Linked DNA regions of Homo sapiens: region 2 is linked to region 1. Evidence: promoter capture Hi-C in human tissues and cell types (Jung and others, 2019). All regions are on one chromosome and are shown on one strand. Each heading gives the region's core, a stretch centred on a gene start or on the middle of the fragment in contact. The rest is flanking DNA. Distances are from core to core; before and after follow the strand shown.

Region 1 (3,414 bases), core at 554-3,053:
GGGTGTTACATGTCACTCTTCCGTAATCACACTTGGAGTATTGTGAAATCATTCTGCCTTGTACCTAGGCCTCCTTGATTATTTCAAACTCAGCTGAAGCCAAAACCCTTGAGTTTTCATTTCAAAAGGGTGGAAATGATTGGCAGTCTCTAAAAATAAAGTTCCACTTGGTCAGGGTTCAACATTTTAAGAATAAAGAGATACCATTTCACCCAAGCCAGCCCTTTTCTTGTCACCAGCCAAGAAAGGCCAGAAGGAACAAATCAGTTGCCCTCTTTTCAAGTTTGCATGGAGAAAAGATAGCAACCACTTTCTTCCCAAGCCCAGTTTTCTTTTCCCTGGTTCCTTATAAGTAGAGGTTGATTCGATAGTCCAACTAAAGAGCAAAAGCTAGGGGAAAAACTCACCCTATTCCCTACCTCAAGTTGGAAATAAAATGTTCATCTTCAGATGACATGTGTGACAACAGAGGTGAGTATATGTTGAGTAAGGAAAGATCCTCAGGACACCTGAAGAAGTTACTTCCAAACCAATTCATAGTGAGAAGTGTTTTCTTGTCCTTTGGGCTATCCTTTTTCCCTTTGGCAATAAGCTGGTTTCTAAACTTCGGATTAGTCCAAAGTGAAACATCTCTTGAAAGAATGTTCCCTTAATATTCTGGAACCTGAGGTCATAGCAGTGTAACTAACAGACATCTTTTTTCTTTAAAAACAGGTATACACCTAACTGTGGACACATTCATCTTACTAATCTGTAGGGAGATATTGCTGGAGTATAGAGTAAATAGAAGAAAAAGACTTATCTTTGGTGGAAAACTCTTTAAGAGATGCCTCTAGTAAACATTTATCTAGCTAAGTGCCACTTGACCGTTCCTTGGAAGATTCAGAAGGCTGAAAATTTCTGCCATGCCATGTGACTGAGAAGCAGCAGAGACCTCTCTTCATCCCCTGAACTGCTGGTCCAATTCAGCCAGATGATGCAAGTCCCATAGCCAACCCAAAAGCAGGAGCAAAAAAAAGTCTTTCAGCGCAGGTATTGTATTTGAATCCATCTTATGAAAGGTGGTCTCCTCAAGTTTGAGCTATGGTAGATTGTCACAAGCCTCAAAGCCTTTTCAGAACTTCTAGAAATTCTCTGCTCTTCCATTAACTTCATTGATAATGCCAGGAAAGTGGCATTTCTTTCCTACCCAGTCCAGACGGAATCTAGTAACTGAAGCAAGGCTTGCCTGGTGATGTCCTCACAACAGCTCTGAATCCTCAAGGTCTCAGGAGCCTCTGAATCATGCCTCTGGCACATGTCTTATGGAGGTGTGGACCCTAGAAATATTAGGAAATATCCTAAGACAAAAAATTAGGCAAAATTTCACGTTGAGGAAAGGGCTCTGCAATCATAATTTGACATTACATTAGAAAGACATCAGGAGGATACTGCCAATTATATCATATATTCTTTTCATCAGACCCATAGAGAATGGTTGCTTAGGGTTCTGAACTTCAAAGCATTTATTGAACCAGGTTGTTAGGAAAAGCCTATAATACCTTCCAAATCAAGATTCCTCAGACATAGCTTCATAACTGCCTTCAATCATGGGGTTCTGGGCAACTGTCATTGTCTTCTTAACAGTAAGGATGTACCCTACATTAAGGACAGGTATGTTTTTTCTGCTTACTACTCTATTCCAAGTGCTGACCACAGTGTCTGGCACATAAAAAGCACTCAATAATTTGTTGAATAAATGTGCCCTACATGAAAATTCAGGTTTATAAGAATAACAGAAATTAAGAGGTGATTACTAGCTTTGCAAAAAAAAAAAAAAAAAAAAAAAAAGATTTACAGTAAGATTCCTTTGAAGAGTAAACCACCATGGTACATATAAGCTATGACTCCATATTTTTACATTTCATTTGCGCCCAACTTTTCTAATCAAACGTCTATTGTATGAAGTGACTAATCCACATGCTACACAGCTTTTTCATTTAAAAATAAAATGAAAAGAATAGAAAAGGCATGTGCTTTATAAAAGAATGCCAAATATTTATGAAAAAGAAATAATAGCATTAGAATATCACCATTTTGCATAGCCCCAGCATAACAACATATCAGGAAGGAAATTCAGAAGCATTAAAACCATTAGATAAAAAAGATTAGGAACCAAATATTCTCAAGGTGCAAAAATATAACTATTCCACATATTTCTAATTGCAAAAGAGAAAATGTACCTTAACTATGAAAAATTCCAGAAGTACTCAAAATGCATATTTACATTGGAAAGTTCTGAAAGTGTAAGAAAAAAAAAGTACCCTTACAATAAAAGCTCTGGGTGTGATTTTAACAAATATGCCTTTACATCAGAAGGTCCTAGAAGTGATCAAAATGTATCTTTAACATTACCCTTCACCCTTCCTCCATGATTGTAGGTTCCTGAGGCCTCCCCAGCCATGCCTCCTGTATAGCCTGTGGAACTGAGTCAATTAAAACTCTTTTTTAAATAAATTACCCAGTCTCAGGTAGTTTTTTATAGCAGTATAAAAACACACTAGGCCAGATGCAGTGGCTCACACCTGTAATCCCAGCACTTTGGGAGGCTGAGACGGGCAGATCATCTGAGGTCAGGAGTTTCAGACCAGCCTGGCCAACGTGGTGAAACCCCATCTCTACTTAAAAATACAAAAATTAGCCAGGCGTGGTGGCAGGCACTGTAATCCCAGCTACTCAGGAGGCTGAGGCAAGAGGATCGCTTGAACCTGGAAGGCAGAGGTTGCAGTGAGCCAAGATCATTCGACTGCACTCCAGTCTAGATGACAGAGCAAGATTCTGTCTCAAAAAAAAAAAAAAGAAAAAGAAAAGAAAACACACTAATACAAGCTCTATGCACAGCAGAGGGCCATTACAAATCTTATTGATGCTGTAAATTTTGGGGTGAAGTATTTTCTACCTGACTGGGGTCCATATAAACTTCTCCTTTCTCTGACCTCCTAATGGCCCTGGTAACACTGGCCTTGGTCAAATACATTCCTGTTTTCCATGCACGAATTCTTTGTTGTCTAAGTGCAATGAAGATGGAGGCCAGGGCTCTAATTCAACTCTGCTGCTAATACATAGGATCTTGAGCCAGTGACTTTGACCTGTTTCTTCATGTGGCTTCCTTGCTATTCCTTCAGCACACCAGCTACATGCCCCTGCCTCAGGGCAAAAAATGCTTTTGACCACATACGTGCTAACAAAACTACATATGCATTTACCCTCAGACCCACAAGCCCACTTCTACAAATTTACTCTGAAGATATACCTCCACAAAAGTGAAATGACATTATTCATGAGGTTACTCACTATATCATTCCATACACATTCTATAAAATATTAAAAACTTAGAAACAACCTATATGTCCATCCATGGAGACTGGTTGAATA
Region 2 (3,414 bases), core at 468-2,967, 220 kb before region 1:
GTGGAAACATTTATTTTTTAGTACTGTACTCAAAATGAATGAACACCACAGACATTTCGTGGGTGAGAGGCTAGGGATGTTAGACATTCTCCAATATGAAGAGCAATCCTACACAACAAAAATTGTCCCTCACCTCAGACTTCTGAGAAGATGAAACACCTGTTTATAATTATCTGTGCCTAGAACATAGCTGTTTCTCTATTTATTTTATTTTATTAGTGGGAGTGGGGAGCTTAGCTTTGATATACAGCACATTTGGGGGAACTGAAAATGCACATAAATTAAAGACATTTTGTACTTTGTCTTGTTCAGTTCTACCAAGAGTTGTCCACCATTTTGTAAAAGTATTTCACTGGTTGAAATATCATAACTGTTTCAGAAAGCGTTTGTAGCCATCCCAATCACAGGGATCCTAGACATACACAGAGTGCCTATTTTACAATAACTTCTAGGGAAATCACATCCAAGCATTTGTTTTTAAAATATGTAGTATTTTATATCAATTACTTTCCTTTTATTTCTCTTTATATTAGAGCAAGGGCATTATATTGGTTTTTTAAAGTTATATTTGCAGGTAATTGTTTAATTTATTAATTTTATTCCAGAATAGTGCAGAGGGTTAGGAAGTGTTACTGAAAGCATGCATTATGTCTGATGGATTAAGAGCCACTGCTCTAGTAAGCATGGCTAGTTAAAGCTGATGAAGACTCTGCCACCTGCAGGGAGGAGAGGGAACTCAGGCTGCATCACGGAATGCACTAGGAAAGGATGTGATTGTGTGGCTCCAGAGGACAGGAAAGAGCTATTTCAATTAAACAAATACATACTTTGTATCTACTAAGTCTAAAGCATGGGGTCCTGGAAGACAGGGCTACAGCAGCAACCCAAACAATGTAAGCCTTCTCCCAAGGTGCTCACGGTGGAGCGTAGAAAAATATGTGGGTCTGGGGAAGTAGGGATCGGGCCAAGTGGGCAAGAACAATCCACTGGTCAGAGACCCCCGATCCATTTCAAACCTCTCTGCTAACAACCTGTGCAGGTTACTTGATCTAGGAGAATGTAACAAGGATGCCAAGGTTTTGGCACATATGCTTAATTTTTTTCAAAATTTACACCAGCTTAGAAAATCTACATAAAAATATAAAAGTAATACACGAATACAGTGTTTTGTATAAATTCAAAAACTAGAGATGCAGGTAAAGAACAAAAAAGTCTTCATTTTTCCTAAAAAATAACTATTACTATAAATCTAGAATATGTCCTTCTCAACATTTTATGCATTTATATACATATGTATGCAAGATACAAATAATTTTAATGGGTTTTTCTTAAAAACATAAGTGAAGTTATACACTCTGTGTGTGTATAGCTTTACAACTTCATTTTTCCTTTTATTGAAAAATAGGTCTTGGCACAAAGGCATAAGAATGACACAATGGGCCGGGTGCAGTGGCTCACGCCTGTAATCCCAGCACTTTGGGAGGCCGAGGTGGGCAGGTCACTTGAGGCCAGGAGTTTGAGACCAGCCTAGCCAACATGGTGAAACCCTGTCTCTACTAAAAATATAAAAACTAGCCGGGCGTGGTGGCAGGCGCCTGTAATCCTGAGGCAGGAGAATCGCCTGAACCTGGAAGCTGGAGGCAGAGGTTGCAGTGAGCCGAGATCGCACCACTGCACTCCAGCTTGAGCTGGGTGACAGACCGAGACTCTGTCTCAAAAAAAGAAAGAAAGAAAGAAAGAAAGAAAGAAAGAAAGAAAGAAAGAAAGAAAGAAAGAAAGAAAGAAAGAAAGAATTATGCAATGGACTCTGGGGACTTGGGGGGAAGTGTTGGGGTTGGGAGGCAAGGGATAAAAGACTACAAATAGGGTACAATGTATACTGCTTGGGTGATGGGTGCACTAAAATCTCACAAATCACCACTAAAGAACTTACTCATGTAACCAAATACCACCTGTGCCCCAATAACCTATGCAAATACAGTACATAAATAAAAATAAAAATATGTCTTAGAACTCCCAGCTGTCATCTGCTGTTGCATCTCCAAGCTTTTGGGAACTTCTGGGCATGTTTTGCTCTCCACATCACTCACTTTTTGAAGGAAAGAAAGAAGAGGAAAAAATCTACCCATAGAAAAATAAATACAAAAATTAGAAGTACCGGTGTCTCCAGATGAGAAGGAACTGGCACAAGAATTCTGCCACCATGAAAAATCTGAATGTGGCAATACCACCAAAGCATTGCATTAGCTTTCTAGCAATGGTCCCTACACAAAATGGAAACTCGGAAATGACAGGTAAAGAATTCAAAGCATGGATTGCAAGAAAGCTCACTGAGATCCAAGACAAGGTTGAAAATCAACAGAAAGAAACTTCCAAAGCAGTCCAGAAAATGAAGGAAGAGATAAACATCTTAAAAAGACAGCAAAGCAGTCCAGAAAATGAAGGAAGAGATAAACATCTTAAAAAGAAAGCAATCTGAGCTTCTGGAATTAAAATACTCATGTAAGGAGTTTCAAAATACAATTGAAAGCTTTGTCAATAGACTGGACTAAGCAGAAGAAATAATTTCAGAGATTAAAGACCAGACTTTTGAACTAAACCAATCTGACAAAAATAAAGACAAAAGTTTTTGTTTTGTTTGTTTGTTTTTTAAAAAGACAGCATCTTCTTCTGTTGCCAGGCTGGAGTGCAGTGACATAACTGTGGCTCACTACAACCTCTGCCTCCCAGGTTCAAGCATTTCTCCTGCCCTCAACCTCCTGAATACCTGGGATTACAGGCATGTGCCACCATGCCTAGCTAATTTTTGTATTTTTAGTAGAGAAGGAGTTTCATCATGTTGGCCAGGCTGGTCTTGAACTTCTGACCTCAAGTAATCTGCCCACCTCAGCCTCCCAAAGTGCTGAGATTACAGGTGTGAGCCACTGCACCTGGCAGGAATTTTTTTAAATGAGCAAAGACTTCGAGAAATATGGGATTATGTGAAGTCACCAAATCTATAAATTACTGGCATTCCTGAGAGAGAAGCAGAAAAAGCAAACAACCTGGAAAGTATATTTGAAAAAATAATTCAAGAGAACTGAAGGAGAAATAAAATATTTTCCAGTCAAGCAAGCACTGAGGGAATTTGTTACCACTAGACCAGTCTTATAAGAGACCTTTAAGGGAGTTTTAAACATGGAAGCAAAAGAATGATACCTGTTACCACAAAAACACAGCTAAACACATAGCCTGCAGACCCTGTAGAGCAAAAACACCATAGAAATACAAAGCAGACAACTAACAACTTCATGATATGCTCAAAATTTCACATGTTAATATTAATTTTGAATGCAGATGGTCTAAACACCCCGTTTAAAAGTCACAGAAGGGCAAGTTGAATTAAAAAAAAAAAAAGACTCATTGACCTGCTGT

The links. The method cuts DNA at HindIII sites, captures the fragments that hold promoters and counts their contacts. A contact is called where the count stands out against the background at its distance.
Region 2: a fragment that was not itself captured here is called in contact with the fragment with the promoter of PLAC8L1 in region 1 in 1 of the 25 tissues and cell types used here (mesendoderm cells).

Annotation. Positions count from the first base shown.
Region 1 is chr5:146,103,774-146,107,187 of GRCh38, forward strand. It overlaps PLAC8L1 (PLAC8 like 1), which reads right to left and starts at 1,804. Exons shown (of 4, transcript NM_001029869.3): 1 at 420-1,804. The coding sequence starts at 538. RefSeq lists a silencer at 1-99. The HindIII fragment of the contact is 8,663 bases long and covers 1-3,414 here.
Region 2 is chr5:145,887,454-145,890,867 of GRCh38, forward strand. It overlaps a transcript of GRXCR2 not described here. Among named protein-coding and RNA genes, the nearest start is that of GRXCR2, 16 kb to the left of the region's middle. The HindIII fragment of the contact is 4,676 bases long and covers 1-3,414 here.